Linked DNA regions of Homo sapiens: all the other regions are linked to region 3. Evidence: promoter capture Hi-C in human tissues and cell types (Jung and others, 2019). All regions are on one chromosome and are shown on one strand. The core of a region is centred on a gene start or on the middle of the fragment in contact, and the rest is flanking DNA. Distances in the headings are between cores, read along the strand shown.

The links. The method cuts DNA at HindIII sites, captures the fragments that hold promoters and counts their contacts. A contact is called where the count stands out against the background at its distance.
Region 1: a contact is called between the fragment with the promoter of ZSWIM4 here and the fragment with the promoter of PALM3 in region 3, in 2 of the 25 tissues and cell types used here (dorsolateral prefrontal cortex and spleen).
Region 2: a fragment that was not itself captured here is called in contact with the fragment with the promoter of PALM3 in region 3 in 1 of the 25 tissues and cell types used here (spleen).
Region 4: a contact is called between a fragment that was not itself captured here and the fragment with the promoter of PALM3 in region 3, in 1 of the 25 tissues and cell types used here (dorsolateral prefrontal cortex).

The regions. Positions count from the first base shown.
Region 1 is chr19:13,793,089-13,796,692 of GRCh38, forward strand. It overlaps ZSWIM4 (zinc finger SWIM-type containing 4), which reads left to right and starts at 2,355. Exons shown (of 14, transcript NM_001367834.3): 1 at 2,355-2,713. The coding sequence starts at 2,561. RefSeq lists silencers at 1,989-2,478, 2,499-2,708 and an enhancer at 2,949-3,018. The HindIII fragment of the contact is 5,751 bases long and covers 1-3,604 here.
Region 2 is chr19:14,382,482-14,386,089 of GRCh38, forward strand. All of the region lies in intron 1 of ADGRE5 (adhesion G protein-coupled receptor E5), which reads left to right. Among named protein-coding and RNA genes, the nearest start is that of ADGRE5, 2.8 kb to the left of the region's middle. RefSeq lists a silencer at 312-451. The HindIII fragment of the contact is 5,608 bases long and covers 1-3,608 here.
Region 3 is chr19:14,060,791-14,064,032 of GRCh38, forward strand. PALM3 (paralemmin 3) reads right to left here and starts at 1,286. Exons shown (of 7, transcript NM_001145028.2): 1 at 1,150-1,286. The coding sequence starts at 1,190. RefSeq lists an enhancer at 1,227-1,781. The HindIII fragment of the contact is 26,422 bases long and covers 1-3,242 here.
Region 4 is chr19:13,714,308-13,717,893 of GRCh38, forward strand. LOC105372284 (a long non-coding RNA gene) reads right to left here. Exons shown (of 7, transcript XR_001754028.1): 2 at 2,869-2,932; 3 at 63-126. Among named protein-coding and RNA genes, the nearest start is that of YJU2B, 32 kb to the right of the region's middle. The HindIII fragment of the contact is 3,426 bases long and covers 1-3,161 here.

The DNA of each region.
Region 1 (3,604 bases), core at 1,105-3,604, 270 kb before region 3:
GCCCAGCTGATTTTCTTATTTTTTAATAGAGATGGGTTTTCGCCATGTTGCCCATGCTGGTCTCAAACTCCTGGGCTCAAGTGATCTTCCCACCTCACCATCCCAAAGTGCTGGGATTCCAGGCGTGAACCACCGCGCCTGGCCAAAACATTCTTTTTTTTTTTTTTTTGGAGTCTCACTCTGTCCCCCAGGCTGGAGTGCAGTGGCGCAATCTTGGCTCACTGCAACCTCTGCCTCCTGGGTTCCCACCATTCTCCTGCCCTAGCCTCCCTAGTAGCTGGGACTATAGGCGCCTGCCACCATGCCCGGCTAATTTTTTGTATTTTTAGTAGAGAAGGGGTTTCACTGTGTTAGCCAGGATGGAAAACATTCTTAATGAAATATTTTAGGCCGGGCGTGGTGGCTCACGCCTGGAATCCCAGCACTTTGGGAGGCCAAGGCAGGCAGATCATAAGGTCAGGAGTTTGAGACCAGCCTGCCAATATGGTGAAACCCCGTCTCTACTAAAAATGCAAAAGTTAGTCAGGCGTGGCGGTGGGTGCCTGTAGCCCCAGCTACTTGGGAGGCTGAGGCAGAATAATCACGTGAACCTGGGAGGCAGAGGTTGCAGTGAGCTGAGATCACTCCATCTCAAAAAAAAAAAAAGAAATATTTTTCCTTGTTCCCTTCCTGCTATGTCTCCAAAATCCACTCTGTATTTTACCTTTCCAGCACAACCTAATTTCAGCCAGTCCCATTTCAAGGGCTCAGAGACCACTTGTGGCCATTGGTGACCATACTGGACAGTGCAGGTCTGCAGGGGAGTTTAACTAATTGAGGGGGTGGCAGGGAGAGTGGGTGAAGACTGGCCAGAGGGTGCAGCTGTGAGACTCGAAGTTTCTCCAAGAAAAAGCTAGGGCTTCCATATGGATGAGTGGATAATCACTGTTTTTTTTTTTTTTCTGCTGTGCCTATCATTTAACTGAATGGAGGCAAAGCATGTGTTGGTTGGTACATTCAACAAGTTCTAGGTTAAGCGCCTACCTTCCAGGTGCTGCCGGTACAGTAAAGCACAGATGGGACAAACTCCTGCCTCCTGAGGCTCACAGTGGAGAGGGAGAGATTGAAATTAAGCAACTACCAAAGGTGGATCACTTGAGGTCAGGAGTTCAAGACCAGCCTGGCCAACATGGCAAAACTCCGTCTCTACCAAAAATACAAAAATTAGCCGGGCGTGGTGGTGGGCGCCTATAATTTCAGCTATTCGGGAGGCTGAGGCAGGAGAATCACTTGACCCCGGGAGGCGCAGGTTGCAGTGAGCCGAGATCGCACCACTGCACCCCAGCCTGGACGACAAGAGTGAAACTCCGTAAAAAAAAAAAAAAAAAAAAAAAAAAAAACCGCCGAAACAGATAAATAAATGGTAATGGTGAGAAGTATGAGGAAGGAAAAATGCAGGGTCCTCTGAGGACATTGGCAAGGAGCCGGGACGGGAACGGGTGATGGAAGCCATGGCCAGCTTCCAGGCCAGAGACGGTGGCCTACACAAGCTGAGTCAGAAAAAATGCTCAGAGGTGCTGGGGTTTGATTAAGTGTTAGGGTGAACCTCATGGAATTGCCATTTTAACAGGCCAAAAATGGTAAAAAAAAATTAGCAATTTCATATGACCCAAGATAGTATCTAGGGCATGGAAAGGAGGGGCGGGGTACTATACTAGTTTTGAGGCTCAAGGGATGACCTATGAACCCCCTAACCGAGCTTTGTTTCTGGAGAGGGGGTCCGCGGCCCGCATGAGCTCCCTCAGTGAGCCTGCGACCCCTCCGCCCCCACAAGAACCAAAACTTGACCCGGTGCCCAGAGAGGTTGAGTGAGTTTCTCGGGTCGCACAGCTGGGAGGGACGAGGGGCTGAGCCACTGCCAAGGGATCCCGCTGCTCTGTCTCGCTCACCGGCCGGGCTATGTTGATTGTCCCCTCGCGGCGCCCGGAAGCGACCCTCAGTAAACAAAGCCGTGTGTGGGCGCAGCCCCAGAAGCCTGGGGCGCGCAGTCCAGCCCAAGAGAGGCGGGGGAGGAATGTTGTGAATGAACCCCGGGCCCGCCCCGAAACTCCGCATAAGGCCTGGGCCGCGGGGGTCCTCCCACTCTGATTGGCCTCTGGCGCCCCGTGATTGACAGCGCCCCTCGCTGTGCGCTCTGGTTGGGTAAACAAGAAAAGACTGGCATCGCAGTCATCGAGTGAGCAGCGAGGCTTGGACACGGGTCTGGCGGCGCAGCCAATGGCGGGGGAGGGCCGAGGAGGCCGAGGGGGGGCCAATAGGGACAGGCGGTGGGGGCGGGACGACGGCGGAGCTAAAGCGGCGGCTGAAGCAGCTTCATTGTTGTGAAGAGTCTTAAAGGGGCCGCATCACCCTGCCGGCCCGGCGCGGGTCGGGGGTGGGTGCGGTAGGGGTCCCGGGGCGGCCGAGCGCAGAGGACGGACGGGAAGGAGGGCAGGGGGCGCGGGAGCCGGCGAAGCGGAGCGGGCATCGGACCGAGCCCCCCAAAGAGGCCCCGCCCCGGCCCTGGCCCCGGCCGGGCCGGATGGAACCCCCCGCGGCCAAGCGGAGCCGGGGCTGCCCCGCGGGACCCGAGGAGCGCGATGCCGGGGCCGGGGCCGCGCGTGGCCGGGGCCGGCCCGAGGCGCTGCTGGACCTCAGCGCCAAGCGGGTAGCCGAGAGCTGGGCCTTCGAGCAGGTGACCGCGGGGGAAGGGGGCGGGGGCAGGGACGCACCCCCAGCACCTTCCCCACCTGTCTTCTCCTCCCCCACAATCCCCAGACTCCAGAGCTAACCCAATCAGAGACACCCCCTGAGATTCCACCCCCAGGACCCTTAACCCTGCCTGGAAACACCCCCTCATCCTCCTGTTTCTGTCCTTCAAACCCAGTAACCCACCCCCATCCCTTCTCTGCCATCTCTGCCCCTCAGCGCCCCAGATCCCAAATCAGGACACTTCCTTCTTCTCCTACCAACCCCAGATCTCTGAGATCTGGCCCCCATGGCCCGCCTACAACCCTGGGCACCCCTCTTTTCCCGCCTTATCCCCCAACGGTACCCCTCTTTTCCCACCTTATCCCCCAACGGTACCCCTCTTTTCCCACCTTATCCCCCAACGGTACCCCTCTTTTCCTACCGCATCTTTATTCGCCAATCAGGGCACCCCATTCAGTCTTCAATCCTCTCTTCGGCCCCCCGCTTGGGGACACCCTGTCTCCCTCCATCGTAGCCTCTAGAGACTCACACTACCCCATTCCTGCTCTCCAGATCCCTACCGTACACCCCAAGTAAATAACTCCCCCATCTCTCCAGATTCCAGCTCAAGACACCCCTTTTTTCCCCATTCATTCCTGCCCTCGAGCCTCCAGATTCCACCTGTTCCTTGGGGACCCCTCTCTACTCCTCCAGATTCCTCTTTCGGGGCTGCCCGTCTTCTCCTGGCTTGCCGCAGGGATTACTGAAATGCCAGGGTCCCTCCTCCTCCCCACCTCATCCCCCTGACCTATCCTATCTCTTCCCATAGGAAAACAGCAGGGGCGGAGCCTGGGTGGTGGTCCCTGGACAGGTGCACCTAGAAGCTCTCTTCTGT
Region 2 (3,608 bases), core at 240-2,739, 320 kb after region 3:
CCGTCTCCGTCTTAGATTGTTTTAAGGGATGAGTGAGTTAGGACACAAACTATTCCTGGTTCACAGTAAGAATTAGGTAAACAGCATTTTAAAAGTGTTGGCTGGGCACAGTGGCTCACACCTGCAATCCCAGCACTTTGAGAGGCCGAGGCAGGTGGATCTCTTGAGCCCAGGGACTGGAGACTAGCCTGGGCAACACATCGAGACGTTGTCTCTACCAAAAACAAATTTTTTTTTTTTTTTTTGAGACAAAGTCTCGCTCTTGTCGCTCAGGCTGGAGTGCAATGGTGCAATCTCGGCTCACTGCAACCTCCGCCTCCTGGGTTCAAGCGATTCTCCTGCCTCGCCCCCATCCACCCCGAGTAGCTGGGATTATAGGTGCCTGCCACCATGCCCGGCTAGTTTTTTGTTTTAGTTTTTGTGTTTGTATTTTTAGTAGAGACGGGGTTTCACCATGATGGCCAGGCTGGTCTCAAACTCCTGACCTCAGGTGATTCACCCGCCTCCGCCTCCCAAAGTGCTGGGATTACAGGCATGAGCCACCGCGCCCAGCCAAAAAAAATTTTTTTTAATTAGTCGGGCTTGGTGGTGTGCGCCTGTAGTCCTAGTGGCTCAGGAGGCTGAGGTGGGAGGATCCCTTGAGCCCAGGAGGTTGAAGCTGCAGTGAGCTGTGTTTGCACCACTGCACTCCAGCCTGGGTGACAGAGCAAGATCCTATCTCAAAAAATAAATTAATAATAAGGCCGGGTGCAGTGGCTCACACCTGTAATCCCAGCACTTTGGTAGGCCCAGGCCAGCAGATCACCAGAGGTCAGGAGTTCGAGACCAGCCTGGCCAACATGGTGAAACTCTGTCTTTACTAAAAATACAAAAATTACCTGGGTGTGGTGGCGGGCGCCTGTAATCCCAGCTACTCGGGAGCCTGAGGTAGGAGAGTCTCTTGAACCTGGGAGGTGGAGGTTGCAGTGAGCTGAGATCACGCCACTGCACTCCAGCCTGGGTGACAGTGAGACCCTGTCTCAAAATAAATGAATAAATAATAAATTATGATGATTATTAAATTCTGGTAAGACACTAGTGGGTCTGGGGAATTGTCTCGGGGTCCTTAGGAGGAAGCCTAAAGAAGGGGTGACTGCCCCACCACCCCCCACCCCAGGATCTCAATGCAGGAAACTGACTACTTAGGGCTCAGCCCAGAGAATGCAAACCAGAAGGAACTCAAACCAGAACAGCAGCTTCTCTCCCGGCTTCTGTTTGGGCAACTTCCAAGGCCCCAGATGGAGGCAGCTGGGCCCTGTAGCCTCACGGTGGGAGTAGAGAACCCAGCTCAGCCCATGCAGAGGGGATGGGGCACAAAGGAACCCTGCCCAGGGCCCTGAGGACCTCAATCCCTCAATTCCTCCTTCCCCAACCTCTTCTGTTTATTGGATTCCTCCTGATCCTTTTCTGGGCTCCAAGCCTCAGTTTCTCTATCTGTAGAATGGGCATCAACACAGCCCCTGCCTCCTAGAGTGGTTCTGAGCTTTAAAGGAGTTACCTGGGGCTTTGGGAGTTAGAGATGAATCTGCCTAGATCCTGTCCTGCCAGGGGAGGTCATTTTGTGGTCTGTTCTGCAAAGAGGAACTGGGTTCTGGCCGAGGGAGGAACTAGCCAAGCCTTGTGGCCAGAGAGGAGGAAGAGGGGAATCCTGACAGAAGTGGGGAGTACGGGCTTGGGCTGGGGGGTTTCGGCCTTGGTTTAACCCAGCTGGAAGGAGTGTGGAGGTGGGAGTGGGGATCTCTGCCTTCCACCCACCTAAGGGGTACTAAATTTGAACACAGTGGCTGAGTGGTCCGGGGACCTCCAATCTGCACCCCAAACACCCGCCCTCTGAAGCTGTGCTCATAACAGACCCCAAAATTCCCCTGGAAGCCCCTCCAGGGTTGAATTGGGGCAAATGAGTGGTGAGTCATTCCTTCCCTTAGGCCCAGGAAGTGACTCATGCCCAGCCGTTGTCCTGGTCCCCATCCCTCTGCCCGACACCCCCCTTCAGGTCTCCCTGGATTATTGGGGTCCCCAGTATTCCCAGATCGGCAGGGACTGGACGTCCCCTCCCAGCCCGCCCCAGGCCCCACCTGCCGCTCATATCCCAACGCCCTCCGTTCCCCTGCCCTTCCCCTCTGTTTCCATCCACCCTCCTTTCTCATGGTTTTCTTTCTTCCTCACTGTTTATCTCTCTGTCTCTCTGTTCTCTCTGTCCCATCTCCTCCTGTTTCCCCTTCTGCTCTTTATGGGCCCCTTGTTTCTCTCTCCACCTCTCTCTATCACCATGTAATTTCTGTCTCTCTGTCTGTCTCTATCTCTCCGTGTCTCTGTCTCCTCTGTCTTATATTTCTCTAGCTGTCTTCTTTCTCCTCTCTGTCTCCCTCTCTCTCTCCAGCTTGTCTCCTTTCTCCTCTCTGTCTCCGTCTCTGTCCCTCTATCTCTCTGTCTCTCTCTCTCTTTGTTCTTTTCTTTTCTTTCTTTTTTTTTTTTTTGAGACTCTTGCTCTTTTTTTTTTTTTTTTTTTTTTGAGAGTCTTGCTCTGTTGCCCAGGCTGGCGTGCAGTGGCGGGATCTCAGCTCACTGCAACCTCTGCCTTCTGTGTTCAAGCGATTCTCCTGCCTCCACCTCCCAAATAGCTGGGATTACAGGCGTGTGCCACCATGCCCGGCTAATTTTTTGTATTTTTAGTAGAGATGGGGTTTCACTATGTTGGCCAGGCTGGTCTCACACTCCTGGCCTCAGGTGATCCATCTGCCTCGGCCTCCCAAAGTGCTGGGATTACAGGCGTGAACCACCAAGCACAGCCCCCCACCTTCTGTCTCTCTGTCTCTTTGTGTCTCTGTCTCTCTTTCTGTGTCTCTCTTTCTTTCTGACTCTTTCTCTCTCTCTGTCTGTCTCTCTCTCTCTCTAATCTCTATTTTCTCTCCACCCCTGCTTCTTTGTCTCTATCTCTCTGGTGAACAGCAAGGAGATCCCTAGGTCCCCATCTCTGAATCCCCTGGTGACCTGAGGAGGGTCCCCCAGAACATGCCTTGGGAGGGGGAACCCCCTGAGTGCTGGGAACCGCCACTCCACGTGCACCCCAACAGGCGGCTACAGCGTCTTCCTGTGGGAGGGGGGCCCGGGGGTGAAATATCACCACTGGGTTCCAGGACAGACCGCCAGGGCCAGTGGCAGTTGTGGGTGTGGTGTGTGTGCACCTGTGTCCCTGAGGAAGCGTGGAGGTCCAGGGCATCTCAGAGCCTGGGTGATCCAACACCGTCATTTTTTTTTTTTTTTTTCTGAGACGGAGTCTTGCTCTGTCACTCAGGCTGGAGTGCAGTGGCGTGATCTTGGCTTGCTGCAACTCTGCCTCCTTAGTTCAAGCGATTCTCAAGCCTCAGTCTCCCAAGTAGCTGGGATAACAGGCACCCACCACCACGCCCAGCTAATTTTTTGTATTTTCAGTAGAGAGGGGGTTTCACCATATTAGGCAGGCTGGTCTCGAACTCCCGATCTCAAGTGATCCACCCGCCTCGGCCTCCCAAAGTGCTGGGATTACAGGCATGAGCCACTGTGCCTGACCACGCCTTCATTTTTACCTA
Region 3 (3,242 bases), core at 36-2,535:
CGCTCTGTCACCCAGGCTGGAGTGCAATGGCTCAATCTCAGCTCACTGCAACCCCCGCTTCCTGGGTTCAAGTGATTCTCCTGCCTCAGCCTCCTGAGTAGCTGAGATTACAGGCGTGCACCACCAAGCCCGGCTAATTTTTGTATTTTTAGTACAGATGGGGTTTCACCATACTGGCCAGGCTGGTCTCGAACTCCTGACCTCAGGTGATCTGCCCGCCTCGGCCTCCCAAAGTGCTGGGATTACAGGCGTGAGCCACCGTGCCCGGCCACGAAGTCATGCTTTGCAAGATATCCCAAAGGAAGCCCAGATTCTGTGCTTATAGGTTTGCCCCTGGGGGAGGGCTGAAGTCCCGTGGTCTCCTGTACCACCCCCAAGATGTAATCTCCCTGCCTCTTCCTTGCTGGGGGGGATCGGGTTCCCATTGCTAAGCAACCAGGTTTGTAGTTGGTGAATAATGCAATGGAGGACCTAGAAGGGTGAGGAACCGAATTGGGGTCCCTAGTGTGGGGGGAAGCCCCTTTTCCAAAACTCTTTCCAAACCTCTGAAGCCCCCTCTACCCTTTTAACCTTAAAAAACTCTCACCCCTCAGCTATGAAAAGACTTCACACACCCCATTCCATCTTGCTTATCTCTAACTAACTCTGGAAGAACAACGTAGGCGGCCTGGGCTTCTGGCCACCCGCAAGAGTTGGTGGCCATTTCATGAAGGAGGTCATCCTTGCAATGTTGCCATTGTCTTTCTCAGGCTGGGAGCTTTTAACTTCTGTTGGATCTCAAGCCTTTTCTCCCACCTTGGACACTGACTTTAGGGGCAAAACGTGGAACCCAGTGACCCTGACCTTCCCCACTCCCTGCACCACAGCAGTAGCCCCACCCCCTGGCTGGACTTTGGGTTCTCAGCCCTGGCAGCGGAAAATCCCCGAAGAGGAAGGGGCAGGGGGAGCCTATATCTCTCTCCCACCCCTTGACTCTTTAAGGAAGGGTGACACTGATGAGCCTATGGGGTTGGCTAGCCAACCCCTCCACTCCCCGGGTCCCCTTAGGAGAGACCACTGGAGCTCTCGGCTCCCAGACAAGGCCAGCATCCCCCATGAGCCCCTCCCAAGGCCCTGCCCACCAGCCCCCCTGACCCCCCAGACACTTACATGGGTGTGGCCAGAGACCACACCTGGCTCTGCAGGGCCATCTCTGCCCAGAAGTTCACTTTCTGGTCTCCGAGTTCTGGACCCACCACCCGCTTGCCTGAAGGTGCCCCGGAGGCTGTGACTTGGCTGCCTGGAGTGGGGGGGGGCTGCGGGCGGGCACCGGGAGAGCAGGTCCAGCGGGTTTGGGCCAGGGAGGCGGTAGGCACACCAGAGAGGGGGGCTGGGGGCTGGAGGGCAGTTCTGGGGAGGTACTATCAGCTGTCCTGATAAATTATTCACCAGCCTCTGGCCTCTTTGTTGCACTCAGCTGCCTCCCGGAAAACACTTTCACACACGCGTGGTCAAGCGTGGGGGTGAGAGTACTGAGTCGGTGACTCCCCCTGCCACCAGAGAATGGCATTTCTACTTGGCACCCCAATCATCTTGAGTCTGACTGCCTGCCAAGACTCACCCACAGGAGAGCACCATTGCATAGCACACAGGCTGGAGACTGTTTTATTTTTTTAGAGATGGGGGTCTCACTCTGTTGCCCAGGCTAAAATGTAGTAGTGCGATCATAGCTCACTGCAGTTTCAGACTCCGGGGCGCAAACAATCCTCCCTCCTCGGCTTCTCAAAGTGCTGGGATTACAGGCATGAGCCACCACATCTGGCAGATAACATTTTTTAAAATTATTTTTTAAGAACAGGCACAGTGGTGCATATGTGTAATCCTAGCACTTTGGGAGGCCCAGGTGGGTGGATCACCTGAGGGCGGAGTTCGAGACTGGTCTGACCAACATGGTGAAACCCCGTCTCTGCTAAATACAAAAAAAAACTTAGCCGGGCATGGTGGTGCATGCCTGTAACCTCCGCTACTTGGGAGGCTGAGGCAGAAGAATCACTTGAACCCAGGTGGCAGAGGTTGCAGTTAGCCAAGATCGCACCATTGCACTCCAGCCTGGGCAACAAGAGCAAAACTCTGTCTAAAAAAAAAAAAATTACTTTTTGAGCCAGGCACGGTGGCTCACGCCTGTAATCCCAGCACTTTGGGAGGCCGAGGTGGGCGGATCACGAGGTCAGGAGTTTGAGACCAGCCTGGCCAACATGGAGAAAGCCTGCCTCTGCTAAAGATACACATTAGCCAGGTGTGGTGGCACACCTGTAGTCCTAGCTACTCGGGAGGTTGAGGCAGGAGAATTGCTTGTACCCAGGAGGCGGAGATTGCAGGGAGCTGAGATCATGCCACTGCACTCCAGCCTGGGTGACGGAGCAAGACTCCGTCTGAAAAAAAAAAATTACTTTTTGATCGTGGTAAAATACACATAACAAAATTTACCATTAGTGGCATTTAGTATGTTCACAATATTATGCAATCCTCACCACTGGTTCAGAATATTTTCATCAACCCAAAAGGAAGTGATCACTACTCATTCCCCTGCCTCCCGTGCCTGGCAACCACCAATCTGTGTCCATCTCTATGGATTTGCCTATTCTGGACTTTTTGTTTTTCTTTTTTGTTTGTTTGTTTTTTTAGATGGAGCCTCACTCTATCGCCCAGGCTAGAGTGCGATGGGCACAATCTTGGCTCACTGCAACCTCCACCTGCTGGGTTCAAGCAATTTTCCTGCCTCAGCCTCCCAAGTAGCTGGGATTACAGGCACCCGCCATCACGCCCAGCTAATTTTTGTATTCTTGTAGAGACAGGGTTTCACCATGTTGGCCAGGCTGGTCTTGAACTTCTGACCTCAGGTGATCCATCCTCCTTGGCCTCCCAAACTGCTGGGATTACAGGCGTCAGCCACTGTGCCCGGACTATTCTGGATAGTTCTATAAAAATGGACTCACAGGCCGGGCGCAGTGGCTCATGCCTGTAATCCCAGCATTTTGGGAGGCTGAGGTGGGCGGATTACCTGAGGTCAGGAGTTCAAGACCAGCCTGACCAACATGGAGAAACCCTATCTCTACTAAAAATACAAAATTAGCCAGGCATGGTGGTGCATACCTGTAATCTCAGCTACTTGGGAGGCTGAGGCAGGAGAATCACTTGAACCCGGGAGGCGGAGGTTGCGATGAGCCGAGATCACGCCATTGCACTCCAGCCTGGGCAACAAG
Region 4 (3,586 bases), core at 199-2,698, 350 kb before region 3:
GAGAAAAAAAAAATCACAGTGGAAATAAGAAAATATTTTGAACTGAATGCTAATGAACATACCTGAAAAAATGCTGTGGGATGCAGCTAAAGCAGTGCTGAGAGGAAAAGGCATAGCTTTGAATGCCTGTATGAAAAACGAAAAAAAGCTTAAGGTATTGTTATTTCAAGATACTGAGTTTTGGGGTCTCTTTTCTTGTGCAGCAATAGCTGACTGCTATGATAAGTAGCATTTATACTGCATTCATTATGTGGCAGACCCAAGTAAACAGAACCACACAGGTTATGTGAATGGCCAGTAAGGAGTAAAGTCAGAATTCAAATCCAGATTGGCTCTGGCATTAGGCTCTCAGCACTGTGCTATACTTCTCCTAGAGGAGAAACCTAACAATCACGACATTGTGATAAATGCTATTAATTCATAGAAGTGGGTGGACCTAACTCGGAGGATTGGAAAACACTTCCAGAAAGAAGTGATGCTTGACCTGACAGTTAAGAGAAAGTGAAGGCTGTTGAAAAGGTTATGCAGAGGCCCATGGGCATGAACGACATAGCCCATAGTTCAGTGTGGCTGGCCCATACAGTGAGCATGACTTGTGTCAAAAAATGAGAATGAAGATGTAGTCCAGATCTGATTCAAGCCTGTCTAAAGAGGGAGATGATCTGATTAGATTTGCACCTCAGGAAGATCCATCTGTAGTATGTGGAGGATTGGAAGAGAGATATGATGCAAAAATTCCAGTTAAGAGGCCATGAAAGGGCCGGGCACTGTGGCTCACACCTATAATACTAGCACTTTCGAGGGTTGAGGCAGGCAGACCACTTGAGGTCAGGAGTTTGAGACAAGCCTGGCCAACATGGTGAAACCCCAACTCTACTAAAAATACAGAAAAAACTAGCCGGGCGTGGTGGCGGGTGCCTGTAATCCCAGCACTTTGGGAGGCCAAGGCGGGTGGATCACGAGGTCAGGAGATTGAGACCATCCTGGCTAACACGGTGAAACCCCGTCGCTACTAAAAATACAAAAAAAAATAGCCGGGCATGATGGCGGGCGCCTGTAGTCCCAGCTACTCGGAAGGGTGAGGCAGGAGAATGGTGTGAACCCGGGAGGCAGAGCTTGCAGTGAGCTGAGATCACGCCAGTGCACTCCAGCCTGGGCAACAGAGCGAGACTCCGTCTCAAAAAAAAAAAAATACAAAAATTATCTGGGTGTGGTGGTGCACACTTGTAGTCCCAGCTACTTGGGAGGCTGAGGCAGGAGAATTGCTTGAACCTGAGAGGCAGAGGTTGCAGTGAGGTGAGATCGTGCCACTGCACTCCAGCCTGGGCAACAAAGTGAGACCTTGTCTCAAAAAAAAAAAAAAAAAAAAAAAGAGGCCATGAAAGCATTGATAAAGACTCTCTTTTTCTTTCTTTCTTTTTTTTTGGGAAACAAGGTCTCACTCTGTCACCCAGGCTAGAGTGCAGCAGTGATCACAGCGCTCACTGTAACCTCGACCACCAGAGCTGAAGCGATCCTCTTGGCTCAGCCTCTTGAGTAGCTGGGACCACAGGCATGCACTACTATGCCCGCCTAATTTTTTTATTTTTATTTTTATTTTTGGTAGAGATGGGGGTCTCTCTATTTTTCCCAGGCTGGTCTTGAACTCCTAGGGCTCAAGCAAGCTTCACACTAGCCTCCCCAAGTGCTAGGACTGCAGGCATGAGCCACCCATGACTCCTCTTTTCAACTAGGCATCATTCTTGGATCCTGTCCTTAGCCTGCTTCTGTCAGTCTTGGCAAAGAATCCTGCTAAATTATACCCCAATCCTTAATATTTTATCACCCTGGCCAGCCTTCAGCAAGAATCCTTAAGTTAGCATCTTAATCCATTTGGGCTACTCTAACAAAATAACATAGATTGAGTGGCTTAAAAGCAACAGAAATTCATTTCCCACAATTCTAGTGGCTGGGAAGTCCAAGAGCAAGGCACCAGCGCATTCAGTGCCTGCTGAGAATCTGCTTCTTGGTTCATAGATGACCATTTTTTCATTGTGCCCCCACATGGTGGAAGGGTTGAGGGACCTCTCTGGGATCTGTTTGATAGAGGCATTAATCCCATTCCTGAGGGCTCCAGTCCCATAACTTTATCACCTCCCAAAGGCCCTGCCTCCAACACCATCACATTGAGGATTAGGTTTCAATACATGAATTTGGGCCTGGCACAGTAGCTCACGCCTGTAATCTCAGCATTTTGGGAGGCCACGGCAGGTGGATCACCTGAGGTCAAGAGTCCAAGACCAGCCTGGCCAACATGGCAAAAACCTGTCTCTACTAAAACTACAAAAATTAGCTAGGCGTGGTGACATGGGCCTGTAATTCCAGCTACTTGGGAGGCTGAGGCAGGAGAATCACTTGAACCCGGAAAGCGGAAGTTGCAGTAAGCTGAGAATCATGCCACTGCACTCCAGCCTGGGCAACAGGGCGAGACTCCATAAAATTAAAAAAAAAAAAACCAAAAACATGAATTTGAAGGAGACACAAACATTGTCTACAACAATGGTTTGGCAAGAATCCCCCTATCTGCCGAGTGCAGTGGCTCATGCCTGTAATCCCAACACTTTAGGAGGGAAAAGCAGGAAGATTGCTGGAGGCCAGGAGTTCAAGAGCAGCCTGGGCAACATAGTAAGACCCTGTCTCTATTAAAAATAAAAAAGAATCCCCCTATGCTTGATGTTTCCTCTTAGTCATTTTTCACCCACTAAACCCTTCACTCTGCTCATCGGCTGTAAATGCCAATCTGTCTTTGCTGTTTTGGAAACTGAGCTCATTTCTCTGCTGAAGTCTCTTTTCCCCTATTACAATAGTACCGAATAAAACTGTCTTTACCACTTTTAACCGGTGTCCAGCTCTGTCTCTTCGACAGCATCCAGATGAGTCACAAAGACCTGAACTAAAGCATTAGCAGTTAGGATCCATCAAGCATTTCTTTAGGATTTATTGTTTTAAGTCCTCAGATTTTGTCTAAGGCAATGGGAATGTAGCAAGCAGTAAACACAACAGGCAAAAATCCCTGCCCTGGGCCGGGTGAGGTGGCTAACGCCTGTAGAAGTGGCAGAAGTTCCATGCACCCAGACTGCCTCCCACCTCAAGTATCAGCCACAGCAACTCATTTTTCTGCCTCGGAGCTTTTTTGCAGCTATTGAAGGCTGTCTGCGTGCAGATGCTGCCAGAAGTTAGGAAGAGATAAAGCCCCGAGGAGGTAACGCTCAACCAGTGCAGAGTCAATAAATGAATGTGTCACTCCCCACCCTCATCCGCTTGGGGGACTATTCTGACTTTTTTTCTGCACCATTTACTTGCAGGAGTAGCTCAATAATGCACTCTTCATTGGCTTTTCCTCCTAACCTGTCTGCCTCTTCCAATATCCCTGTTACTGCTTCCTGAAACCATTTTCCAAATAAACTATCAGAAAAGCAAAATGAAGACGCAATCGAAGAGAACACTTGGGGCTGGGCGCAGTGGCTCACGCCTGTAATCCCAGCACTTTGGGAGGCCGAGGCAGGCAGATCACAAGGTCAGGAGTTCAAGACCAGCCTGGCCAACA